3 separate regions of the Homo sapiens genome follow, and all the other regions are linked to region 1. Evidence: promoter capture Hi-C in 16 types of primary human blood cells and fetal thymus (Javierre and others, 2016). All regions are on one chromosome and are shown on one strand. The core of a region is centred on a gene start or on the middle of the fragment in contact, and the rest is flanking DNA. Distances in the headings are between cores, read along the strand shown. Region 1 holds the start of IFT52 (intraflagellar transport 52). Region 2 holds the start of JPH2 (junctophilin 2). Region 3 overlaps JPH2 (junctophilin 2).

Region 1 (4,431 bases), core at 1,255-3,754:
TTTTCTGCAATTTGCATATTTGTAGAGATTCTTATCTATTGAATGGCTGAGTAAATCATTTCCAAATTGCCCTCCAAAAAGTTATACTCATTTATATTTCCACTAACACCCTTCTGTTTCCACACAATCCTATTTCCAGTCTTTGTCATGTTTGCCAATAAAGGGCCAAAAAACCCCCCTCATTACTGTTTTAATTTCCACTTTGAAGTTAGTGAGATAGTTGTCTCTTGCTATAGATTTTTGCCACTTGTATTTCTTCTGATTTTCTTGTCCAGGTACTCTTGATCATTTTTCTCTTTAAATTTTTCTTTTTAAAAACTTCTTCTTATTATTATTATTTGAGATAAAAGTCCCACTCTGTGACCCAGGCTGGGAGTGCAGTGCTGCAATCACAACTCACTGTAGCCTTGACCTCCCAGGCTCAAGCAATCATCCCACTTCAACCTCATGGGTAGCTGGGACTACAGGCGCGCACCAGTGTCCAGCTAATTTTTAAATTTTTTGTAGAAGCAAGGTCTCGCTATGTTGCCCTTGAACTCCTGACCTCAAGTGATCCTCCTACCTCAACCTCCCAAAGTGCTGGTTTACTGGCATGAGCCACTGCACCCAGTCGGGTTTCATAATTTTCTAATTGATCATTAAACAAACATTTTCATAAGTTTATTTGGCTTCTGGTAGTTTTTTTGGTTTGGTTGAATTTTGCAGGCCATATAGATTTTAAATTTTATAGAGTTAAAAGTATGAATCTTTTCCTTCCTGGCTTCTGGATGACATGAAACACTTAGAAGAGTTTTTTGTCATTCTAAGATTATAAATAAATTCAACAATGCTTTACTTCAGTACTTCATGATGTAATTTTTTTTTTTTTTTGAGAGAGTCTGCTCTGTGGCCTAAGCTGGAGTGCAGTGGCACGATCTCGGCTCACCACAACCTCTGCCTCCCAGATTCAAGAGATTCTCGTGCCTCAGCCTCCCAAGCGGCTGGGACTACAGGCGCCCAAACACACCCGGCTAATTCGTGATGTAATTTTTTAACATTTAAATTTTAGTCCATTTGGAAATTATTGTGGTGCTCAAAATGGGCTTCATTCCTTTTTTTTTTCCTTCTTTTTCAAAGCATAGTCTTGCTCTGTCACCCAGGCTGGAGTGCAGTGGTGCAATCTCGGCTCGCTGCAACCTCCGCCTCCCAAGTTCAAGCAATTCTCCTGCCTCAGCCTCCCCAGTAGCTGGGATTACAGGCGCGCGCCATAGTAGAGACGGTGTTTCACCAGGTTGGCCAGGCTGGTCTGGAACTCCTGACCTCAAGTGATCCACCCGCTTTGGCCTCCCAAAGTGCTGGGATTACAGGTGTGAGCCACCTCGCTCGACTGGTTTAATTATTTTCTAAATTGCTAAAAAAGCTGCCTGACCCCAATTCATCTCTTCAATGCTGATTTGAAATACAGTACCACCTCGCCTATATAATAAATCCCTATATATAAATCGCTCTTATTCTGAGTTCTAATATATTTTATCTACCTGTAAGCTCCTGCTGAGTCCCAAACTTTTTAAATTAATTTATTTATTTTCAGAGACAGGGTTTCCTTTTGATACCCATGCTGGTCTCTGACTCCTGGGCTCAAGGGATCCTGCCGCCTCAGCCTACCAAGTAGCCAGGACTACGGGCCCACACTGCTGCACCCATCTTCTATGCTAGTTTAATTGCTATACCTTTATGTTATAATATCTGGTGGTTCTGGAGAGCTAATCTCCCTTATTAGCATTAATTTTAGAATTTTCCTGGCTACTTTCACATATTTATCCTTCTTTAAGCACTTTAACATCATTTTGTCCAGTTGAAAAACTGCCCCCTCCATGGTCCCACCACCGTGATACATCTATCTTTTTTTGTTCTGTTAGTTCAGCCCCTGGTGAGAGTAGCAGGTCTGCGTTCCTGTACTGTCAGACTTAGCCAGAAATGCATTTCCTTAATAATAGTATAAGGCCTTTAAAACTATAAAAATAACAAATATTTGGGTAACGCTGCCAAACCATTCTCTCGCTTTCTCTTCAATAACATTACCAGTCAAATCAGTATTTTCCCACATGAATACCGAGGGGTCGCAGCCACGACAGAAGAGAGATTAAGACTGTACGATTCCTCGTCCCATGCTCTTTCATAGTCAGCGGAACGACTAAACACCTGCACCACCCGAGGCCGTGGAGATGGGCGCCCAGCCGGGGCGCCAGGAACCCGGGCTACGTCCGCGCCCACAGTTTACTTCACCCCGGGGGACCCTGGATGTTCTATGACCGGCCCAGCGGCCTCGAAGAGTGCGGCGAGTCCCTCGCCAGCTCCCAGGCCGCACCAACGCCCCAGCCGGCCCACCACTGTTGGCGCCCTTTACCTGAGGCCCAGCGACCACCGCTCACCTGACGCCGCCCAGCATCCCGCGGCCAGGTATCCAAGGCCGCTTAGTAACCGGAGAGGCGCGTCGGTGCGCCGGGAGGCGTGGCCCAGGACGCAGCGCTAGCTCCGGCCGACGTGATGACGACAGCACGGAAGGCGCCTCTCCGTCGCAGGCGTCAGGGGTAGGCAGCCTGACTGATGTGGGGCTGTACCATTTGGTGCATGAGGGGCAAATCCAAACATAAGGAGAATTAACTTTTCACCAAAAATAAACCCATTTAATTTTGTTCTTTAGTATCAATTACGAGTAAAGACTAATAACAACGGTAGGACCCAAGTGCCCAAACTTCGCTCCACCCACAGGGAGGAGAATAGTGAAGGCTTCCAGCGCGGGGGGGTTGGAGAACGCCCCAGCTTCGATTCCCAAAGCGCAGGAGCAGAGTGGAGCCAGGCGAGGGCGGGGCCGGGCGGAAGGCTGTGCTGGACTATTAGGAACTACTTAACGGAAAAGGGTGCGCAGGTTTAGTGTTGAGAATGATAAACCGTATAATTCTGTTTTATTAACTCCGCATCTTTGCTTGCCATGGTACTAGGCTTGAGCGCCGGCGAGCATGGCGGGGAGTTAGAACTTGAATAGATTCTACAAAAATGTGAAAACTATGAACTGTATTAGGGAGTCTAACGACTAAGCTGGTCAAAAAGGCGCCCCTGTTGAGCAGAGATTTGAAGAGAGAGTGGTATTCATTAAGGCAAAGGCTGGGGAAGGGCGTTCCCGGCAGAAAGAACTGCTTGTGCAAAAGCACCACCAATACAGGTTGCCCTGCCATCGCCATTAAGATGGGAAACCAGAAGCCTGCAACTACCAACAGGCCACCCGACTACCCAGGAAAGCGCTCTGTGCCTGCCTTTAGAGGTGTGTGGATTTGTGAACAACGCTGCAGCAGCCTGGAAGACCCAAACTGAAGATTGCAGAGAGCTCTGACAGTTTTTATTTACATTTATGTTTGTCTTCGAATCTAGGATATTAAAACACATACAACTCGTGTTGCTTTCCACAATTTCTGTCACTGGAAATTTTAAAAGTGGAGACGGGCCGGGCGCAGCGGCTCTCTCCTGTAATCCCAGCACTTTGGGAGGCCGAGGCAGGTGGATCTCTTTAGCCCAGGAGTTTGAGGCCAGCCTAGGCAACATGGCGAAACCCGGTATCTACTAAAAATAGGAAAAATTACCTGGGCGTGGTGGCGCGCGCCTGTAGTCCCAGCTGCTTGGGAGACTGAGGTGGGAGGATTGATTGATTGATCCTAGGAGGTTGAGGCTGCAGTGAGCCGTCATGGTGCCGCCGCACTCTAGCCTAGGCAACACAGTGAGACCTTGTCTCAAAAAGAAAGTGGAGAACAGGGTGATTTGAGAATTCTCTTTGGTCAGATGAAGTGGCTTCTGCCTGTAATCCCAGCATTTTGGGAGGCCAAGGTGGGAGGACTGCTTGAGGCCAGGAGTCTGGGACCTGGGTAACAGTAACACCTTTTCTCTCCAATAATAATAGTAATAATAAATAAAAAAAGAAAATTAGCCAGGCATGGTGGCACACACCTGTAGTCTTAGCTACTTGGGAGGCTGAGGTGGGAAGATCGCTGGAACCCAGGAGTTCGGGCTGCAGTGAGCCATGATCGCTCCACTGCACCCCAGCCTGGGCAACAGAGTGAGACTCTGTCTCTTAAAAAAAAAAAGTTCTCTTCTTGGGGATGCTGTATTTTGGTGCAGAATTGGGTGAATACAGTTTGCAGTTAGGGTAATAATGGAAATGAAGTATTCTCACTGAAGAGAGAGTAGGCCGTCCCATTTGAAGGCTGGGACAAATCTTGGGATCTTTCTGCCTGATATGCAGTCAGTGTTTGCTACAGCACCTGCCCAGAGCATTTCTCCCACTGTTAGAGATTGCAGAAAGAGTAAGAGTTTTGGCCGGGTGCAGTGGCCCACGCCTGTAATCCCAGCACTTTGGGAGGCCAAGGCAGGTGGATCACTTGAGGTCAAGAGCTCGAGACC
Region 2 (4,431 bases), core at 783-3,282, 600 kb before region 1:
TGGCATAAACATATGATTACGGTATTGAATCTGCAGCTCAAACTCCCCTAGCTTCCAGTTTGAGATGCTCTTCCCTTGACAGCAGAGCTAGAAAGAAGTTTGTGATTCTCCAAAGACCTAGTGAGAAGTGGCGAAAGCAGAACTCCCTGGGAGTAGCCCTGAGATGTTCTTAGAAGTGAATTGTGCAAGCAGGCTGTCAGTCAGCCTGGCCAGGGCTCACACCTAACCACCCAGAGGAAACAGTTTTTATCCACTACGTGCTCCCTGTCAGCTTGGCAAACAGACGGTGACAGTGAGCCCAAGAGGCTGGGTGCCTCTACCTGGTGGTGAAACGCAGATATAGAAGGGGCTCTTGAAGGTCAGCGGCTGTGACCAAGGATGGAACCAAGTCCTAAGAACAGGTAACCCACTGGAAGGAAAGCAGGGAACACTTTTTACCCACTCCCCAAACAGGAACAAGACTTCCGCAGTGACTTCACGTGGCCTAAGTTATCATGGGGTTTGGAAATATGTCAGATAAGTTCAAAGTCAGATAATTGTCTAATGTTCTCTAGTACCTTCTGTGCTTAGTTCTCTCTTTCTCTTCTGTCCCCATCTTCACACACACACTCACACACACACACTCACACATGGAAACACACACACTCTTACCACACACACATACAAACACACACACTCTTACCACACACACTCACACAAACACACACTTACCACACACACACAAACACACACACTCTTACCACACACACTCACATACACTCACACACACTCTCTCACACTCTCACAGACACACGTTCACACACACGCACAGACACACACACACACAGATCTTCCTAGTCTTGGTGGCTCTTACCTTTCCCAGAATTCCTCTATACTCCCATTAACCTTGGGCTTAGCTGGGATTTACAATCATTAGCTCTGGCCACAGCTTCTTGCCATGGAGATTTATTTGTTCTTTTTACTGGAGTTTGGTGGGAACCTGAGTGGCTGGGAATCCACCCAGGCCCTTCTCTCCTGGCCCTGCCCCAAGAGCTTTCTGAAGTCTGGCCTCACAGGCTCCTAGGACACTAGAGCAAAAGACAGCTCAGAAAGGGAAATTTTAAAAAATCATGACCCTTGAGAATTTCTGAGAGGACCTCATTACAACACAACCCTGTGTTGACAGGAAGGGGACTCCTTTGACCTTCAGGGTCTGCTGGGTCTGCGGCAGGGGGCAGGGAGGGCGCCGAGGCATCAAGGGGTGGGGAGAGGAAGCTAGCGGGACGCCCAGTCTGTGTCTCAGGCAGAGAGGAGGGCAGGCTCCTCTCCCTTCTCTTTGCCCTTCAGGAGAAAGAGAAAGGGAATAGATGGTTGCTTCTTGCACCAAGTTCTCCCCGGCTTCCAGGGGTGGAGGGAGCTCAGGGTGGTGAGTGAGCACTGGACTGAGATTCTGTGTATCTTCCAGACCCTGTTTCCACAGCCTCCCCTCTCTTTCTGACTTCCCTCCTCTGCTTTCGGAAGCACATGTGAAACTGTCTCCATTCCTTTCTCTTTAGGTCACTGGATTCCTTGATGGGGCTGGCAGTGGTGCTGTAACCCCAGGTCCCCTTAGGGCATGTGAGTGGTGATGGGGCTGAGATCTGCCAACCTCCTCGCTCTGGGGGATTTTCAGTGTTCCAGGACTGGGTGTTCTGCTGGTCTCCCTCTCCCCTCCCTTCCCCGATTCCCCGGTGCCCTCCCTGCGCGCAGACCCAGGGGACTCTGAGAATGGAAGGGAGCTCTCATTCCCGGGAGGAAAAGACACCAGGTTCCCTGGGCTGCCTGCACTCAGTTCTCAGCCTCCTTCCTCATGCCTCCAGCCACTGCCCGGGTCTGCGGCACGGGCGCGATTTGAAATACCCCTCCTTCCCGCTTTGAAGAAGGCTGGGCTGGCTGGGGGTTATTTTGGGAGCAGCTTCTGAGATCCAATGGCCTTGTTAGGGCAACACTGACCTTTCCGTCCCAGAAGGAGGGCAGGATTGGAGAAGGGGGCGGGGCAGCGGCGGGGAGACCGACAGCCCCGCACACCCACTGGGGTGGAGAAGGGGGCCAGCGGGCTGCGGGAATTCAGCCTCCGGCGGGGGCTGCCACCGAGGGGAATTTCCCCTCTTTGAAAAGGCTGGGGACCCCTCCACCCCACCCTTTCACTGGGCTTCTTAAAGAGATCACACCGTTTTCCCTTGGACTTCTTGGAAGGCAGACTTGGGACGCTTTGTGGGGACTTTGAACCTTTCCTTCCTGCTTTCTTTCCAGCAGGCAGCCTTGCTCTGGCTGGTGGAGTCGGGGCTCCCGGGCATGGCACTGACTAGCCGACCCGGTGCTGACTTGGCGCCGGGGCTCTTTCAGCCTCTGCTGGCATCCTGCTTCCCCCCTCCTGGGGTGCAGTGGTGAGTCTGGGGGCCTGCCCCCGAGGGCACTGGAGGAGTGTTGCAGGCATCACCCACGCCCTCTGCACCCACGCTGGAGGACGGGGAGGTTGTCAGGGGCTATGATGAGATGAGTGGGGGCCGCTTCGACTTTGATGATGGAGGGGCGTACTGCGGGGGCTGGGAGGGGGGAAAGGCCCATGGGCATGGACTGTGCACAGGCCCCAAGGGCCAGGGCGAATACTCTGGCTCCTGGAACTTTGGCTTTGAGGTGGCAGGTGTCTACACCTGGCCCAGCGGAAACACCTTTGAGGGATACTGGAGCCAGGGCAAACGGCATGGGCTGGGCATAGAGACCAAGGGGCGCTGGCTCTACAAGGGCGAGTGGACACATGGCTTCAAGGGACGCTACGGAATCCGGCAGAGCTCAAGCAGCGGTGCCAAGTATGAGGGCACCTGGAACAATGGCCTGCAAGACGGCTATGGCACCGAGACCTATGCTGATGGAGGTGAGGCCAGCTGGGGGCCCGCAGAGGTGGGGTGGAGCCAGGGAGGGTGAGAAACCCTGGTGGAGGGTGGGAAAGGCGACCGGCAATTGGCACAGAATCAGATGGGCTAGGAAGTGATTTGCTGTGTGGTTTTGGGCAAGCTGCTCTACCTTTCTGAGCTTCCATTTTCTTGTAGTAAAGATGGAGCTAATAAAGGGGTTATTGAGAGGATTAGTGGCAGTGCTTAGTACAAAGCCTGCCATGTAAGTGCACACTCAACACACAATAAAATATAACTACTACCATTAGCATGTTCGGTATGCCCCAACATAAACAGCCATGGAATATACTCTAGCAGAATTAGGGTCTAGTCTTAACTTTGCCATGAAAATTATTTTCAAGCAATAGATCATGAGGAGTATTCATCCACCCACCCATCCATCCATCCACCCATCCAACTATCCACTCATCATCTATCCACACACCAATCCACCCACCCGTCCATCCATCCATTCATCCATCCACCCACCTGCCTGCCCATCCATCCATCTACCCACCCACGCATTCATGCTTCCACCCAACCATTCATCTACCCATCCAGCCATTCATACATCTACCTGCCCATCCACCCATCCATCTTTCCATCCATCCATCCATCCATCCATCCATCCATCCATCTATGATCCATCCATGGATTCTTTTTTTTTTTTTCCAAGACAAGTTCTCGTTCTGTTGCCCAGGCTGGAGTGTTGTGGCATGATCTCGGCTCTTTGCAGCCTTGATCTCCCAGGATCAAGTGGTCCACCAACCTCAGCTTCCCTAGTAATTGGGACTACAGGTGTGCACCACCATGCCTGGCTAATTTTTGTATTATTATTTTTTTTTTTGTAGAGACAGGGCTTTTCCATATTGCCCAGACTGGTCTCAAACTTCGGAGCTCAAGCAATCTGCCTGTCTCGGCCTCCCAAATTGCTGGGATTACAGGTGTGGGACACTGTGCCGGGCCTACATTCCTTTTGTGTTTCCTTTTTTAAATTTTTTAAAGATAGGTCTTGCTTTGTTGCTCAGGCTGAAGTGCGGTGGCACAATCACAGCTCACTGCAACCTTGAACTCCTGGGCTCAAGCAATCCTCCCATCTTGGCCTCCTGAGTAGCTGGAACTACAAGGCACATGCCACCAAGCCTAGCTAATTAATTGTTTTTTCTTTTTTTGTAGAGATGGGGTCTTACTATGTGGCCCAGGCTGGTCTCAAACTCCTGGGCTCAAGCAATTCTTGGACTCCGTGGCTCACGCCTGTAATCTCAGCACTTTGGGAAGCTGTGGTGGGAGGATCACTTGAGGCCAGGAGTTCAACACCAGCCTGGGCAATCTAGCAAGATCCCCATTTTTACAAAACGAAAAATCGAAAAACAAAGATAGGCATGCAGACAAACAGTTATACACATTATACACAAGTATGTACAGATACTGTTGCAGAAAGGAGAATTTAGATTTGAGGAGGTCAGGAAATACTTTAAATGGAGCTGACGCCTGAGCTTGGTCTCGACAGGACAGTTAC
Region 3 (4,431 bases), core at 614-3,113, 510 kb before region 1:
CTCCCATTGGGCTTTTATACCCCTCCCTTGCTCTGTTACTGGGTGATATGGTTTGGCTGTGTTCTCACCCAAATCTCATCTTAAATTCCCACCCACACGTTGTGGGAGGGACCCAGTGGGAGGTAATTGAATCATGGGGGCAAGCCTTTCCCGTGCCGTTCTCGTGGTAGTGAATAAGTCTCATGAGATCGATGATTTTAAAAAGAGGAGTTACTCTGCACAAGTTCCTCTCTTTGCCTGCTGCCATCTAGTAAGATGTGACTTGCTCCTCCTTGTCTTCCACCATGATTGTGAGGCTTCCCTAGCCACTTGGAACTGTGAGTCCCATTAAACCTTTCTTTTATAAATTGCCCAGTCTCAGGTATGTCTTTATCAGCAGCATGAAAACGAACTAATAAACTGGGTATGGGCTGCTCTGGGAAGGGCATGACCTTGGGTGAGACAGCTCTCTGAAGCTGGGGCAGACCCTGAAGGAACTGACAACTGGAAGTTGTCTGCTGACCACACTTCCCACTGCAGAGAAGCAAGTCCTTCTTGAAGGGATAAATGCATGATGCTTCTCTTTCTCTACCACATACCCAACAGCCATTCCTAACCCTGCTCCTATCTCTGCCTCCACTACAGAGGCGTGAGCAAAACTCATGATCAAAACTCATTTCCTAGCTTCCTTTGCATCTAGGAGTAGCCTTGTGATCCAGGAGACGTAATTGTCCACGAAACATAAGGGAAAGCTCACTTGGGGTTTCCTGAGAAAGACTTTCTTCTATGATAAAAGAAGAGATGAAAGCAAACAAAGTCTCTCTTGCTACCTTGGCTTTCCCCCTTATTCTTGCTTTTGGATGCAGGTTGGGGGTCGTGGGTGCTGATGCTTGGAGCTGTGGCAGCCATTTCACAACCATGAAAGGAAGGTCAAGAGAATTGCCAAGATGCCAACCCAGTTGATTCTGAAGCTACTGAATCAACTCTTGAACCATCTACAACCAGACTTCTTGTTAAGTAAACAATAACTGTTCTCAAGATTTAAGCCCCTCTTCATCAGGTTTTTTGTTACTTGGGGCCAAACACATTCTAACTGTTAAAATGTATGATCCAGGGCAGGTTACACAATGTCTCTTAAACTTCATGCTTTTGTTGAGATCTTTCTGACACACCAAAGCTCTTCCCATACCCCAGATGCTTCTCTACACAGGAGGTTTCCTGGCAGAGCATGGGTATGTGTGTGGGAATGGGGGAGTGGTGGATGAGGGGGGTGCAATTAATGTGGCCTTTGTACAGAGCCCATTACAAATGGGTGGGATTGGTTATGTGCACAAGGTGGTTTTTAGGTATGTGGATGAGGGGAAAAGGAGATCCCTGAGCCTCATCAGAAATATAAAAAGAAATTATAACATCATTTGAGATACATGAAAGTTAAGCAGAAAAGGGAGAGTGGAATGAAATTCTCAAAAAAGAAAGCAAGTGTAGTAGTGCAATATTGCTGTGATAATACTGCATGACAAGCAACCCTCACGATAACAACCATTTTTTTTCTTGCTCATAGATCTGTGGGTTGACTGTGTTGGCTCTGCTTCAGGCTAAGGGAAAGGTTCAGGTTTCCTCCAGTTGTTTCTCATGTTGGGACCAGTGCCAACGGAGCATGTTTATCTTACGGTGGATGGCAGAAGTGCAGGAATGAAAGCCTCTGCTCCTATCATGTCTGCTTAGATCCTATTGGCCAAATCAAGTCCCATGCCTGAGCCCAACAACAGTGGTGTGGGGGAAGTAAACTCTTCCAAATCTAGAGGCAGGTACTTACCACAAAAAAGTGGACATATGATTTCTTTTCTTTGAGACAGGGTCTTACTCTGTTGCCCAAGCTGGAGTGCAGTGTTACATCATAGCTCTTTGCAGCCTCAAATTCCTGGGCTCAAACTGTTCTCCCACCTCAGTCTCCCAAAGTGCTGCGATTACAGGCATGAGTCACCACACCTGGCCGTATTATTCTTTTATACGGAGTGAAGAATTGGGAATAAAATCCCAATCTACCACCGCAGGAGAAGTCACAGAGAAAAATACAGTCAGAGGAGGGGGTTCCTATGAGTGTCCAGTCTCCAGCCATGATGACATTATCCCTTCAGACTACCTGATCCTTTTGGGCTGCACTGATACTCACCAAGGACCCTCCCTCCAACTCCACTCATTATTTCATTTCACAAGTTCAGTTTTTTCCCCATGTTCTCTTCTTTCCTCATCTTTTCTTCCCCCCAATCCTATCTAATATCAGCCAGTAGAATTATCTTTCTTAGTATCTACTTGGATTGGGTCCCTATATCCAGGTAGAGACAGTGAGAAAAGCTAGTGATTACTCTTTTCTTAGACATGAACACCTGGACATTCCCCAGTTGGTGGTTTAACTTCTCCCTCTTTGTTCCTCCATTTATTTTTTAAAATATTTAAGGAAGTCAATGACTTACAGAACCTTTCATGGGCACTTGGATTAAAGAGATACAAGAGGCATAGTCCTTATACTCCAGGAAAGAAGACCTGGAATGTCTTACCTGATGGCCTGGCATTAAACATGCCAGGACAGAGGGATGTGCAGGAGGCTGTGAAAATACACAAAAGCATTGTGAGTTTGGAAGAGAGGGAATGGAGAGGACTCTGATTTTACCCCTACCTATCCTTCCAGGATGATTCCTGGCACACAGCTCTCTGTCTCAGACCCGTTAAATACAATTATTAGTGTGGTTATTGTTTATCTGCCTTTGCCAGTAGGCTGTAAACTCCGTGCACTTAGGGATGTGCCTATTTTGTTCATTTTTGTTGTCTTAGTCCTTTTGGGCTTCTGTAACACAATACCACAGCCTGGGTACCTTATAAACAACAATTTATTTCTCATGGTTTGGGAGTCTGAGAAGTCCAAGATCAAGGCACCAACAGATGTGATATCTGGGGAGGGACTGCTTTCTGGCTCTCAGATGGCACCTTCGCTCTGTGTCCTCACATGGTGGAAGGGGCAAGGCAGCTCTCTGTGGCCCCTTTCATAAGGGCACTAATCCCATTAATGAGGGTGAAACCCTCATGACCTAAGCACTCCCAAAAGCCCCACCTCCTAATATTGTCACATTGGCAATGAGGCTTCAACATATGAGTTTGAGGGGGACAGCAGCATTCAAACCATAGCACCTGGATTCCCAGGTTGTTACACAGCTCATTAATGGCTCATAATTGGCACCACTATGTTGTAAAAACTATTTTTTCCTGATTTCAATAAGAGTGAAAAGATCTCAAGGTGGTAGAAGGTAAGTGGCAGTACTTAACTTTCACAGACAAGGTGAGTGCAAGTTCTGTATGGGCAACGTGAACCAATAGCAATCAGAAGGTTTGACATGCAGGGATTTTTACCAGGAGCTAATCAATCCTGGTATCCTTGGGGAGATGAAATAGCTGGACCATCTGCTAAAGTATTACTGGACAAACTGTAGGTTTGATAGGCAAAAGTCTAACTTGAGTCACTGCAAAAGAAAGCCACGGCTTCATACCTAGTTCCCAGACCTAAATAAATTCACAGACCCAGAGAGCCTTGACTACAGAGGATGGACCTCACAATGACACCTTTGTTAGAGGACAAAGGTGTTCTTTCAGTTTTTTGAGGAATCTTCAAGGTGTTTTCCAAAAGGCTGTACTTATTTACATTCCCACCAAGAGTACACAAGGGTTCCCATCTCTTCACATCTTCACCAACACTTGTCACTCATCTGTTTGGTAATAGCCATTCCAACAGGTGTGAGGTGAAATCTCATTATGGTTTTAATGTGCATTTTCCTAATGATTAGAGATGTTGAGTATTTTGTCATGTATCTGTTGGGCAATTGTATCTAATCTTTAGTGAAATGCCTGTTCAGAACCTTTGCTCATTTTTAATTGGGTTATTTGTTTTCCTGCAGTTGAGTTTTTGAATTCCTTATATACTTTGGATATCAGCCCCTTTTCAGATTTATAGTTTGCAAATATTTTCTCTCAATTCATGGATTGTTTCTTCAGTCTGATAATTATTTCCTTTGTTATGTAGCCTGGAAGTTATGTAACCTAGAAGAAATGGATGACTTCCTAGAAGCATGTGACCTACAAAGATTGAATCTTTATGGGAAGTTTAAACATTAGTAATTCAACCTCTTTACTTTTTATAGGTCTACTTAGGTTATCTATTTCTTCTTGAGTCAGTTTTGGTAGTTTGTGTCTTTCTAGGAATTTGTCCTCCTCCACTCTTCTAGTGGACTTCTAGAATACAGATGCGATCATGCAGCTCTGTTGCTTACCTATGCCTTTTTTGGCTCTATATTTTCTGCAGCATTAATCTCCAAAATCAGGGGCAAGCAGTGCAAGGAATGCACAATATTGAATGTGAAAATAGATATTATTAATTTCTACATATGTATTATTGAAAAACAA

What was found. Contacts are between HindIII fragments. The CHiCAGO score rates a contact against its expected background, and 5 or more counts as called.
Region 2: a contact is called between the fragment with the promoter of JPH2 here and the fragment with the promoter of IFT52 in region 1, in 4 of 17 cell types (M2 macrophages, M0 macrophages, naive CD8 T cells and 1 more). The highest score is 7.3, in M2 macrophages.
Region 3: a contact is called between a fragment that was not itself captured here and the fragment with the promoter of IFT52 in region 1, in 3 of 17 cell types (M2 macrophages, naive CD8 T cells and fetal thymus). The highest score is 6.9, in M2 macrophages.

What each region holds. Positions count from the first base shown.
Region 1 is chr20:43,589,010-43,593,440 of GRCh38, reverse strand. It overlaps IFT52 (intraflagellar transport 52), which reads right to left and starts at 2,504. Exons shown (of 14, transcript NM_016004.5): 1 at 2,387-2,504. RefSeq lists an enhancer at 2,313-2,382. The HindIII fragment of the contact is 15,646 bases long and covers 1-4,431 here.
Region 2 is chr20:44,184,789-44,189,219 of GRCh38, reverse strand. It overlaps JPH2 (junctophilin 2), which reads left to right and starts at 2,032. Exons shown (of 6, transcript NM_020433.5): 1 at 2,032-2,893. The coding sequence starts at 2,515. The HindIII fragment of the contact is 12,085 bases long and covers 1-4,431 here.
Region 3 is chr20:44,102,506-44,106,936 of GRCh38, reverse strand. It overlaps JPH2 (junctophilin 2), which reads left to right. Exons shown (of 6, transcript NM_020433.5): 6 at 1-347. Among named protein-coding and RNA genes, the nearest start is that of JPH2, 82 kb to the left of the region's middle. The HindIII fragment of the contact is 5,238 bases long and covers 1-4,431 here.